Linked DNA regions of Homo sapiens: all the other regions are linked to region 4. The links are contacts of gene promoters, found by promoter capture Hi-C in blood cells and fetal thymus (Javierre and others, 2016). All regions are on one chromosome and are shown on one strand. The core of a region is centred on a gene start or on the middle of the fragment in contact, and the rest is flanking DNA. Distances in the headings are between cores, read along the strand shown. Region 1 holds the start of NINJ2-AS1 (NINJ2 antisense RNA 1). Region 2 overlaps B4GALNT3 (beta-1,4-N-acetyl-galactosaminyltransferase 3). Region 3 overlaps NINJ2 (ninjurin 2). Region 4 holds the start of ERC1 (ELKS/RAB6-interacting/CAST family member 1).

Region 1 (2,700 bases), core at 196-2,695, 360 kb before region 4:
CTGTCTTCCAGGTCTCTCCACGCAATTAACCTACTCAAAACTTCATGACAGTCCAGCAAGCTTGTCCAACCCACAGCCTGTGGGCCCCGTGCAGCCCAGGACGGCTTTGAACGCGGCCCAAAACAAATTCGTAAATTGTCTTAAAACATTATGAGTTCTTGGTTGGGCATGGTGGCTCACGCCTGTAATCCCAGCACTTTGGGAGGCCGAGGCAGGTGGATCACCTGAGGTCAGGAGTTTGAGACCAGCCTGACCAACATGGAGAAACCTCGTCTCTACTAAAAATGCAAAATTAACCAGGCCTGGTGGCGCATGCCTGTAATCCCAGCTACTCAGGAGACTGAGGCAGGAGAATCACTTGAACCTGGGAGGCAGAGGTTGTGGTGAGCCGAGATCGTGCCGTTGCACTCCAGCCTCGGCGACAAGAGCAAAACTCAAAAAAAAAAAAAAAATATATATATATATATATATATATATGAAGTTTCTTTGCGATTTTTTAAAAGTGTATCAGCCATTGTTAGTGTTGCTGTATTTTATGTGTGGGGCAAGACAATTCTTCCAATGTGGCCCAGGGAAACAAAACAATTGGACACCCTGGATGATGAAAAAGAGCACTCTTCAGCCCCTGCTGTCACCAAAGCCCCACCTCAGTTCTTGCCCTTAGGTAACGCCAAGATAGCAAAATGGAATTTTACCAAACCGCTCTTAGGTTCCTTCCCCAGGAGACCAGAAATGCCCTGGGGACTGCCTGCCTTTGAGGCAAATTTTTTTTCCTTTTTAAAGAAAGTGGTAAACATCTGAAAATAGAGTTTTTGAAAGAAAGTGACTCTTCAGTTGTAATTATAGCAGAGAGGGTCATTGCTTTCTATCAGCAAGAAAGCTGCTTCTATTTTTTTTTATTCTCTTTTTCTTGGTTTTTTGTTTTGTTTTGTTTTGTTTTGTTTTTTGAGACGGAGTCTCGCTGAGTTGCCCAGGCTGGAGTGCAGTGGTGTGATCTCGGCTCACTGCAAGCTCCATCTCCCGGGTTCAAGCGATTCTCCTGCCTCAGCCTCCCGAGTAGCTGGGACTGCAGGCTCCGGCCACCACGCCTGGCTAATTTTTTTTGTATTTTTAGCACAGACGGAGTTTCACCATGTTGACAGGCTGGTCTCGAACTCCTGGCCTCAGGTGATCTGCCCGCCTCGGCCCCCCAAAATGCTGGGATCACAGGCGTGAGCCACCGCTCCCCGCCGCTGCTTCTAAATACAGCCTGTATAATGCAAATCCCCAAAGAGGGCCAGCCTCTGGCCCCATTCAGCTTCCTCCCTCAGAGGCTGGGTGCGTGCGCCCTGGGCGGGGCGGCGGGCTCCCTCCGGAGAGGCCCCAGCCCGGCCTCGTGCCCCTCCCCAGCAGGCTTCCGGCCCTGCGCACAGACCCAAATGGCGCGGGAGGAGGAAGAAGGGGTCAGCTTCAAGCCTGACGTTCTAGGGGGGAGCCGCTTCTTAAGTACGTGCTAGGATCAAGGGTGCATTTGCAAACTTTTCAAAATGCCTTAGAGGAGGTAGGAGTCAAGCCCTTGGGATCTGGAGGGGAAGGAGGAGAGTCAGTTAAACCGCAGAAAGGTTGGTGGGGAGTGGGCTCAGTAATGGCCCCTGTCACAGCCTCGGGCCGGGACTCGCCAGCTCATTTTCTATTTCTAACTCAATGCCAGGCACTGAGCACTGTGCTCAACCTAGTAATTTGGAGACGGAGGTGGATATGCATATAACAGAACAGGATGCTCTCCGGACAAACGTTCTGAAGGAAAAGCAAACGGAAGATCCTCCCGCCTCTGCTGGGCAGTCTCTAATGACCCCTGGGGTATGTTCCAGACATGCGTGGGCATCTGCGAATTTACTCACCTGAGAGCTGCCTCTACCTTTTTTTGTTAAATTTTTATTTATTTATTTATTTATTTTGAGACGGAGTCTCCCTCTGTCACCAGGCGGGAGTGCAGTGGCGTGATCTCTGCTCAATGCAACCTCCGCCTCCCGGGCTCAAGCGATTCTGCTGCCTCAGCCTCCCGAGTAGCTGGGAGTACAGGCGCGCGCCACCACGCCCAGCTAATTTTTATATTTTTAGTACAGACGGGGTTTCACCATGTTGGCCAGGATGGTTTCTATCTCTTGACCTCGTGATCCGCCTGCCTCGGCCTCCAAAGTGCTGGGATTACAGGCGTGAGCCACCGCGCCTGGCCTGCCTCTACCTCTGATCCCTGGGATCAGAAATGAGAAATGCAAAGATTGTCCCTGTGTTATGTGTGTACTGTTTGTAATTGTAATTCACAATCCCCTTTCTTGCTCCTCACCCCATATTCAATTAAGAGAGAAAGGTGAAAAACACAAAGCACAAAATGTTTCCAGGAAACTATCTGAAACTCCTGGAAGGCTAGATTTAGGTATAAACAGAGTAGAACTCCAGATTTCTGCAATGCTCCTTAGGGGCTGAGCTTCCTGCATGCCCTTGACAATTAGAGGAGTTTTTTTTAATACTTCAAAATTATTCCAGAAAGGCATGCAGATGAGAAGATAACCAGGTTATGAGGAAGCCCAAGGTATTTGGTAAGGATGCTCAAGTTTTGGGGAAGGTCAGCTGAAATAGCAATTTGTGGGTGGACTATTAGCAGGGAGTTGACTGGAGAATTAATCAGACGTTGAAGGGACATGGGGGACCCGGGAGGAT
Region 2 (2,700 bases), core at 90-2,589, 460 kb before region 4:
TCTGTGACTTCAGACTCGGAGCGCTCTTTCCCTATCTGTGAAATGGGGTCATGGAGCTGGCCTCTCAGGAGGTTCTTAGAAGGTTCAGATGAAATCACGCCTGTGGGACACTCAGTAAGCCGAAAGGGCCCACACAAAGCATAATCATGTAAGAAAAGCACTCTCACCCCACACCTGCATTTCAGCGTGCAGCCCCTGATCCCACCCCTCCCCAGGCCTGTTACAGAAACACTCGTGCATAGCGTGGGTGGCCACCTTCGGTGAAGCCCATATTCGTGGGTGGTGCTCTGTGTTCTGTGTCTGCGTGGCTGTCTGTGTCTCTGCTGGTGCTCACGTAGGGGTTCCTCTGTGACACTTCTGCCTACTGTCGACTCTTGGCTCCCAGGGGTCGGGGACTGTCAGGCTAATTCCGTCTAAGCAGTGCCCAGCGCAGCATCCTGGGGACATCGTGGTGAAGCTGTTGAGGGAAAGGGGAGCTCAGTGGAAATCCGTGGCACACTGGGGTCCTAGTCTTAGCCTTGCCACTACTTGCTAAGTGAGCCTTGATCAGCCATTTGACCAGTGTGGGTCCCATTTTCCTCACTTGAAGGGAGGATGAGGTGATCTCAAAAGCCTCTTTCGCTTCCAGTGGTCTACGGTTCTGGTTTGTGACTAACAGTGGTTTGGTTCCACTTATCCAAAGCCCAGCAATCTCCTCTGAGATGGGAGTCCCAGCCCTCGGGAGTGTCAGCAGTGGCCGGCCGCCGGACTGATTCTCCCCGGCCCTCACCCTGGTGCAGCCCCTTGCCTCCTGACTTGTGAATGCGCGTGCACCCCCCAGTTTCCTGTTCCCTCCCTCCCTCTCGCCATGGTTTGGCTTTTTGCCTTCCCAGGTGCGTGTAAGCCAACCTGGTCCAGAGCCTTCAGGGTACAGACAGCGTCAGCCACACGCAGCCTCCCGGTGACTCCAGTAATAGCAGGGCCTCTGATCTTGTATCTCCAGTGGTTTATACCTTTGTTTGACAGACATCACATCCCAGGCCCACTCTTTCCTGCCTCTCTCAGCTCCGGCTCTATCCAGCAACCCAGTGATCAGTGGTAGGGGGTCCCCACCCATTAGTAAGCCTCTGCTGTTCCCCGGGCTCAGGGCACAGAAACTGAGCAGGAAGGGAAGAGTGTACCGCCTGTCACGACCATCTCTCCACGGCAGCTCTCGGGATAAATTGGCCTCCAGAGGCAGCCGGGGGAGAACGAGCTGGTAGTGGGAGGCCCGTGGTCCAGGCTCACCTGGACTGGCTCCTTCTCTGGTTTCTGGAAGGCGGTGACTGCTGATGGGATGTAAGCTCATCTCCTCTCTCTGCCCTGTGGGCCTTGGCCAGTCTGCAGCTATCTCCTGCCCCCAGCCCAGCCCTCTTCCCACCCACCCTCTGAAGAGAGGTGAGAAGGGAAGACGGTTCCCTCCATTAACCTCCCAAATCTTTTAGGTGTATGAGGTTTCCAGGTTACGCTGACCTGAGGGCTCCTCTCTTCCCCTTCCACAGGGTACGGCAGCTGGAGAGAACTGGCCAAGGCTCTGGCCAGCAGGAACATTCCAGCTGTGGATCCACACCTCCAGTTCTACCATCCCCAGAGGCTGAGCCTCGAGGTAGGTGACCAGCCAGTCCATTGTCCCTGCTGATGCCTTAACAAAGGTCCGCAGGTGCTCTGCCCAGTTGCCTTAAGGGTAACCTCTGCTACTCTGGGAGGAGAGGCAGAGGATAAACAGCCCCCAGAGTCCTAGTCTGGCCTCAGGACCTCCTAGCTGAGCCTTAGAGATGTCCATCCAGCCTCCTCAAAGCCAGTAAAAGGAAACTTTTACTGGGGCTGCCACTGGGCCTGGTTTTCTGGTGTCTGCCCTCGTTCCCTAGTTCAGTTTGCCCGTGCCGGAACCACTCCGGGCCTGCGACCTCCATCACCAGTGGCATGTGGTGCCTCTCACTAGGGTGAGGGCTGGGCTGTGCTGTGCTTGCTGCTGAGATCAGAGGTGACGAGGTGGATGGACACCCCTCCCTGCCCGTAGCTGGGAGTACAGACTTGTGGTGGAGCATTTGCCTGCAGTGCTTCTTGAACCAATGGTCCCTAAGGAGGCAGATTAGAGAAACTGGGGTCTAATTCATTCAGGAGCCCCAAGGCTGAGCCTAGAACAGACATGGATTCCAGAGCTGGACCAGAGCCAAACTGAACCTGTGGACCTGCACAATAGGGAGGGTTTGGTGGTGTCCCTGAGGGGCTCCCACTTGTTGGAACCCAAATCTATACAGCTGGGGGATAAGGAGGAAGAGGGAGCCGAGGTCCCTGCCCTCAAGAGGTCCTGACCTAAAGAGGGTAAACTGCTTTCCCATATGGGGAGGACAGAAAATTCAGAAAAGTGAAGGAACCCGAGGAGCAGGCGCTGATGAAACTATGGAGATGTATTCCCAGGACATGGTGTGAATGACAGACGGCAGCGTGCTCCGAGCCGACGCCTCCTGGGAGCAGGCACTGTGCCTCCTGTCCTGCCCGTAGCTTCTCATCCTAATATTCCTACCAACTTCGTTCTTCATTCTTCCCCTAGGACCACGACATTGACCAAGGGGTGAGCAGTAACAGCAGCTACTTGAAGTGGAACAAGCCTGTCCCCTGGCTCTCAGAGGTGAGGGACTTTCTATTGTACCTGCCCTTTGAGAGAGCTAAAAAATAATG
Region 3 (2,700 bases), core at 141-2,640, 420 kb before region 4:
CGCGGGGTGGAAGTTGGTCTTTGGGCCTCTGTTAGCGGAGGGCTCACTGCAGGTCAGCGTGTGGTTGCAAAGCTGCCTGTGCCAATGCAGGGTGGCCCAGGGGACACGTGGGGCCTTTCTGCCAGCCACGGGTGCCGAGGCAGAAGGTCTGACTGCAGGCTGGGCTCCTCACCAATGACCACGAGCAGGACACCGATGACCACCTGCAGGAGCAGAGAGAGGCTGATGAGGGTGACCAGGGTGGTGTAGTAGTGAGAGGATGGTCCCTGCTCCAGCACCGCCTTCAGCCGCATGGCGTTGGACATGAACAGGGCCACGTCCAGCATGCTCTCCGCCACGCTCTTCTTGGTGGCGTAATGGTTCAGGTTGATGGGCTGGCTCCTGGGGTCGGAGCTTCCAGGCTGTAGGGGAGAAAGCACAGACTTACCAAGGGGAGCTCTGGAAGGGAAGCAGTTGAGAGGTGGGAGAGAGGAGAGAGGTTTTAAAGCTCTTTCCAATCCAGATGGGAAGCTCAGGGCAAATGACACCCTTAGTTTCATGGCCTGATAAAATGAAGGGTTGGACGAGAAAACCCATAAGGACCTCTGCACTCTGAAATGACATTCTGTTGCAGTTGATACTTCCTGGAGAGTCACCCCTTCCCTCACACCTTCACACATCTGGCTGGAGAAAGCCGGGAGGGTTCTCTGCTGCTGGTAAAATGCACCTTCCTCACCCTATTCACTATTTTACCTGGGCCAGGCCTCAGCTTTGGGCTGTGTTCTTTTCCTCTGAGAGGAAAGCACCTGAGAAGACAATAAAAAGAGCTTGGAGGCTTGGGTGAAATAGAGAAAGGCACCTCCTCTCGCATAATGCTGTGGCCCCCAAGGCAGGGTGCACAGCTCAGCAGCTGATCATCGGCTGGATTTCCAACCCTCAGGAGCACTGGAGCTGCCGCCCTGCTCAGGCACACACGCTGTCAGACACAGGCTCTCAGCATACACATGCATGCATGCATGAGTGTATACACACAGTAATGCATACTAGTTAAACACTCACATCATTTTAATTATTACTTTTGGCTAGGATTTATTGAAGCATAATTTACTAAAGCTTCTCCAGAAGCCACTAACTCCAAAAGACAGAATCACAATACAGGGCATATGCTGTGGGCCTCTGGGTTGGGCCAAGAATTTCAGACTGGGCGCCATGACCAAGGGCAATCTGCAGTCACTCAAGAGTACTTGGAAGATTGATTTAGCAGTGGTGCTTGGAACAGACTGGGCCAGGAAGGGCTAGAAGCAGGGAGAGTCATTTAAAAGTTATAGTATTGATTTAGGATCAGGGTGAAAAGGAACTGAAGTGGAGCAAGGTGAGACAGGAAGGAATGGAGGACTCTGAAGGATGCTACGGCCTGGAGGTAGGGAAGATGACCCAGCAGATCACCATGACAGGACAGATACCTGCAGAGTGGGGAGAGACGGATGGATTGAAGGATGCTATGGCCTGGAGGTAGGGAAGATGACCCAGCAGATCACCACGACAGGACAGATACCTGCTGCGTGGGGACAGATGGATGGATAGATGGATGCGTGCCTATATATGCACAGTGATGCATACCAGTTAAACACTCGTAATTTGTTTTTAATTTTTTTGGCTAGGATTTATTGAAGCATAATTTACATTTGATTTTGTTTTGAAGTATAAAATAAAGCTTCATGGATGAAGGGATGGATGGATGGATGGAGAGATTGGTGGGTGGATGGATGGATGCGTGGATGATTGGATAGGCAGGTCTCAGAGGGTCTGGAATGTTCCTTGTACTTCGTGCAGCCCCAGCAAGTCACTTCACTTCTCTGTACCTCAGGGATTTACACAGAGGACAGTTGATTTACACATAGGCTAACTGATTTACCTATCTATCAGAACCTTTGGATTCTATGAGCCCTTAGGATACCCCGAAATGAGGCTGGGTGCAGTGGCTCATGCCCGTAACTCCAGCACTTTGAGAGGCCAAGGCAGGGGGATCATTTGAGGTCAGGAGTTTGAGACTAGCCTGGCCAACATGGCAAAATCCCGTCTCTACTAAAAATACAAAAAAATCAGCTGGGTATGGTGTCACACGCCTGTAATCCCAGCTACTCAGGAGGCTGAGGCAGGAGAATCACTTGAACCAGGAGGCAGAGGTTGCAGTGAGCAGAGATCGCACCATTGCACTCTAGCCTGGGTGGCAGAGTAAGACTCTTGTCTCAAAACAAAAACAAAAACAAAACTCTGAAATGCAGTAGTCTCCAGACTTTCTTGATAGTGTAATCTCAGCATTAAAAACTGTTTTGGCCATGCATCCTCAATATATGTACATTCTTCCATTATCAACTATACATATTTTTATTGGACTAATTATATATATAGTAAAATATGCAAAAGTAGAAACATTTGAAAGGATTACATAAAATTCAATATAAATAGAAGTTTAATTTTCTTATCCTAAAATATGGTCTTGGGCACTCGTCTTTGGAGATCCAGCTCTAATCCACATGCCTGGCTACAGATTGGACCAATCCTCTCCTAGGCCAACAGAAGGGAGCCTCTCTTCCCCAGTCCTTCTCCTAACGTTTGCCTTCAAAACTCAGCCCCACGTCTCCACCCTGCTCTTCTCACTTCCTTTCCAAGCTCCTGGCCCTTTGCTCTGTTTGCCAGGAGGGTGCACACACACAGACA
Region 4 (2,700 bases), core at 165-2,664:
CTTACCACACTGCTAGGGAGTAACAAGATGGGCAGATCACGAGTCAGATGAGAAAGGTCATGAAAAATAGTCAAAGGATGACTTTTCCTGGGTAAATAGCCGGATGTCCAAGAAATGAAAGGCTGGTCTGGCAGCAGCACATCGTCTAACAGTTGGTAGTCATATGTGGGAAGTACTGAAGGGGGAGATGACAGCAGGCCCAGAAACTGCAATGATCCAAGTGCATGTCGATCCTGGGAGGGAACAGTTAAGAGTCCGGGCAGGATGAAACAGTAGAAACTGGTGAGTGAATGAATGTGAAGGCTGAGGAGCGACTGCAATTTGTTAATGGGATTATGAGGCAGTATAAAGTGGTTAATTACGGTGGCGGAGGTAAGCAGGAGTAAAATGATGGCTTTTAACTCCTCTCAAGGACACCGAAAATTATTTTAATAAACACTGGAAGGCTGGGAATAAATATAATTCACACCATTCTTACTTTCTTGGTTTAGAGATAGCTTATCTACATCCTTAAATTAATGGCTGTAGCTACCCTCTGCATGGCTCCAAAAAAAAAACAAAAAACAAAAAACAAAACCAAAGCCGGCTGCGAGTCTGCACGAGAAAATCGGGTTGCACCAGGCCCCAGCCGCCCGCCGATTCGCTTAGCTGTCGGAGGCTAAATAAACAGCTCCCGAAGCAGCGTTTGGCACAGCGCAGGGTCGGAACGTGGACACTAATTTCCGCCCACGCTCCCCGCGTCCTGGCGGGATCACCACAGACACGACGTCCATTGCTGGGGTCCTCGGCGATGCCCGTGTGCGCAGCCCCGCGAGTCTCAGGTCAGAAGACCACTAATTTCGCGGCCGCGTTCCACGAAGCTAAGGGGCAAAAAACCAGCTTTCTTGGGACAAAGCGTCCCCCCAGCAGCCAGGGTCGATCCCGGCGCTGCTCCCGCGGCGCTTGGCTGCCCCGGGCGTAACGGGCCACGAGAAGTAGGGGGTGGGGCGCCGCTTAGGTTTGGGAAGACACGAAGCGGCTCCTCGGGCTTCCAGCGTCCACTTCCTACGGCAAGCAGGAGGAGACAAGCGCCACCCTGCGCTCGCGGAGCCGACCCCGGCTCTCCCCTCCCGTGGCCGCAGGGGTCGTGTGTGTGTGTGTGTGAGTGTGTGTGTGTGTGCAGGGACGCTCCGCGCCCATCACTCTGTTTCGGTGCTAATCGACCGCCGTGGCGCCGATTTCCCCCGCTTCCCAGTTCCTCACCCGCGTGCCCCGGAAGGCGCCCGGAGGCCCCCGGGCCGCCGCGTCACGCTCCCGGGAGGCTGAGGGAAAGGGAGGCAGCCGAGCCGGGAGCCCGGGGAGGCGCGCTGCGCCCCGCGGCGGGGCTGGGGGCGGGGCTAGGTGTCTCGCGCAGGGGGCGGGGCGCGGTGACGTCGCGGGCGCCTGGGCCGTGCTGTGGCGGCGGCGGCGGCGGTAGTGGCGGCGGCGGCGGTGCCTGGGCGGCAGCAGCAGCAGTAGCGGCAGCCCTGAGGACGGTGAGACGGCCGCGGCGGCGGCGACAGCGCGGAAGTCGCGCGGGACCCAGAGCTTCCCCCCTGTCGCTAGTGCTGAGGCTTTCGCCTTTCCTACCCAGCTTCTTGCTCACGGCCCGGGCTGGGCTGGGCAGGGCAACGCGCCCCCGGGGAGGGGCGGAGCTGTAGGTGAGGCTTCGCGACCCCCTCCCCCTCCTCGGCAGCCCGGGGGGTGGGGAGGGGCGGGCCCCACCCAGACCACCGGCGCCCACCCGCGGGCTCCACCCAGCCGGGCTCCGGGATCGGGCGGGAGCCGAGGCGGTAGATGTGGGGATCCTGGGGCGGGAGGTGGGGGAGTGGGGACTGGGGCTCTGGGCACTTGGGGAGCGGAGGGGGGGAGGCTTAGGACTAGTGAAGCCGCGGACGAGGTAGTGGGGAGACGGAGAAATTGGGGAGCCATGAGGTTGGGGTGCGGTCAGGGTGGATCTTTGGGTTAGGTGAGTGATGTAAAATGCTGAAGATGATTCTTTTCTTTTCGATGAAATGGTGAGATAAAAGATGAAGTGTATTTCAAAAGGACGATGAGCTGTGCATGTTGCCTTTGAGGCAGTTGCAGAACCTATTTTATTGCACTAGATCTCACGTTTCTACTTTAGGGTTCGATTCTTTTTCTTCTGGCGGGGTGGGTGGGGGGTCGGAGAGGGAAGAGAATCCCCTTACTTTGGCTCAGGTAAATTGTGAGCGTGGATGTATCTGAAAGTTTTACACCGAAGAAGAGGGAGATCTTCGGTTTAGACAACTTCGTTCCGGCAGCCACCATTTGGGTCGCATTACGCTTAGCTCCTTCAAGGTGGTGTCTTCCAGTTTTTTTTCCCCCCAATGCCTAAAAGATCTCTTTATACCACCCTTTTACAGGCTTTATCCTGGCCCCTTGAGAGAAGGCCCCAAACTCAGGTGGTTGCTTTGGAAGGCACATTGCTGAATAATAGTTGCAGGTGGTTGTGGTTGACTGCTTTGGGTGGATAAAGTGAACAATTGGAATAGTTCTGTTGGAGCTAATTATATGAAAAATGCTTAAATGTTTTAAAGTACAACCGTCTTTTATAGCGTGTTGCTTGCTCAGTACACCTTGACTTTTAGACATTTTGTGTTCAGTGCTAAATTGTTGAAATTTTATTTCTCATTTGCAGTTATGTTTCTTGCAGTCTTT

What was found. Contacts are between HindIII fragments. The CHiCAGO score rates a contact against its expected background, and 5 or more counts as called.
Region 1: the fragment with the promoter of NINJ2-AS1 here is called in contact with the fragment with the promoter of ERC1 in region 4 in 1 of 17 cell types (naive CD4 T cells); the score reaches 6.0 in naive CD4 T cells.
Region 2: a contact is called between a fragment that was not itself captured here and the fragment with the promoter of ERC1 in region 4, in 1 of 17 cell types (neutrophils). The highest score is 5.5, in neutrophils.
Region 3: a fragment that was not itself captured here is called in contact with the fragment with the promoter of ERC1 in region 4 in 10 of 17 cell types (total CD4 T cells, activated CD4 T cells, naive CD4 T cells and 7 more); the score reaches 8.1 in total CD4 T cells.

The regions. Positions count from the first base shown.
Region 1 is chr12:629,446-632,145 of GRCh38, forward strand. It overlaps NINJ2-AS1 (NINJ2 antisense RNA 1), which reads left to right and starts at 1,446. Exons shown (of 5, transcript NR_122124.1): 1 at 1,446-1,540. All of the region lies in intron 1 of NINJ2 (ninjurin 2), which reads right to left. RefSeq lists silencers at 1,232-1,311, 1,372-1,471. The HindIII fragment of the contact is 3,290 bases long and covers 59-2,700 here.
Region 2 is chr12:533,646-536,345 of GRCh38, forward strand. B4GALNT3 (beta-1,4-N-acetyl-galactosaminyltransferase 3) reads left to right here. Exons shown (of 20, transcript NM_173593.4): 2 at 1,521-1,624; 3 at 2,573-2,650. Among named protein-coding and RNA genes, the nearest start is that of B4GALNT3, 75 kb to the left of the region's middle. RefSeq lists an enhancer at 790-1,289. The HindIII fragment of the contact is 3,965 bases long and covers 1-2,700 here.
Region 3 is chr12:565,778-568,477 of GRCh38, forward strand. It overlaps NINJ2 (ninjurin 2), which reads right to left. Exons shown (of 4, transcript NM_016533.6): 2 at 173-401. Among named protein-coding and RNA genes, the nearest start is that of NINJ2-AS1, 64 kb to the right of the region's middle. RefSeq lists enhancers at 1-139, 140-639. The HindIII fragment of the contact is 601 bases long and covers 1,091-1,691 here.
Region 4 is chr12:989,809-992,508 of GRCh38, forward strand. It overlaps ERC1 (ELKS/RAB6-interacting/CAST family member 1), which reads left to right and starts at 1,415. Exons shown (of 19, transcript NM_178040.4): 1 at 1,415-1,514. It also overlaps a transcript of RAD52 not described here. RefSeq lists enhancers at 246-808, 1,370-1,931 and silencers at 630-679, 1,090-1,199, 1,220-1,729, 1,935-2,229. The HindIII fragment of the contact is 9,168 bases long and covers 1-2,700 here.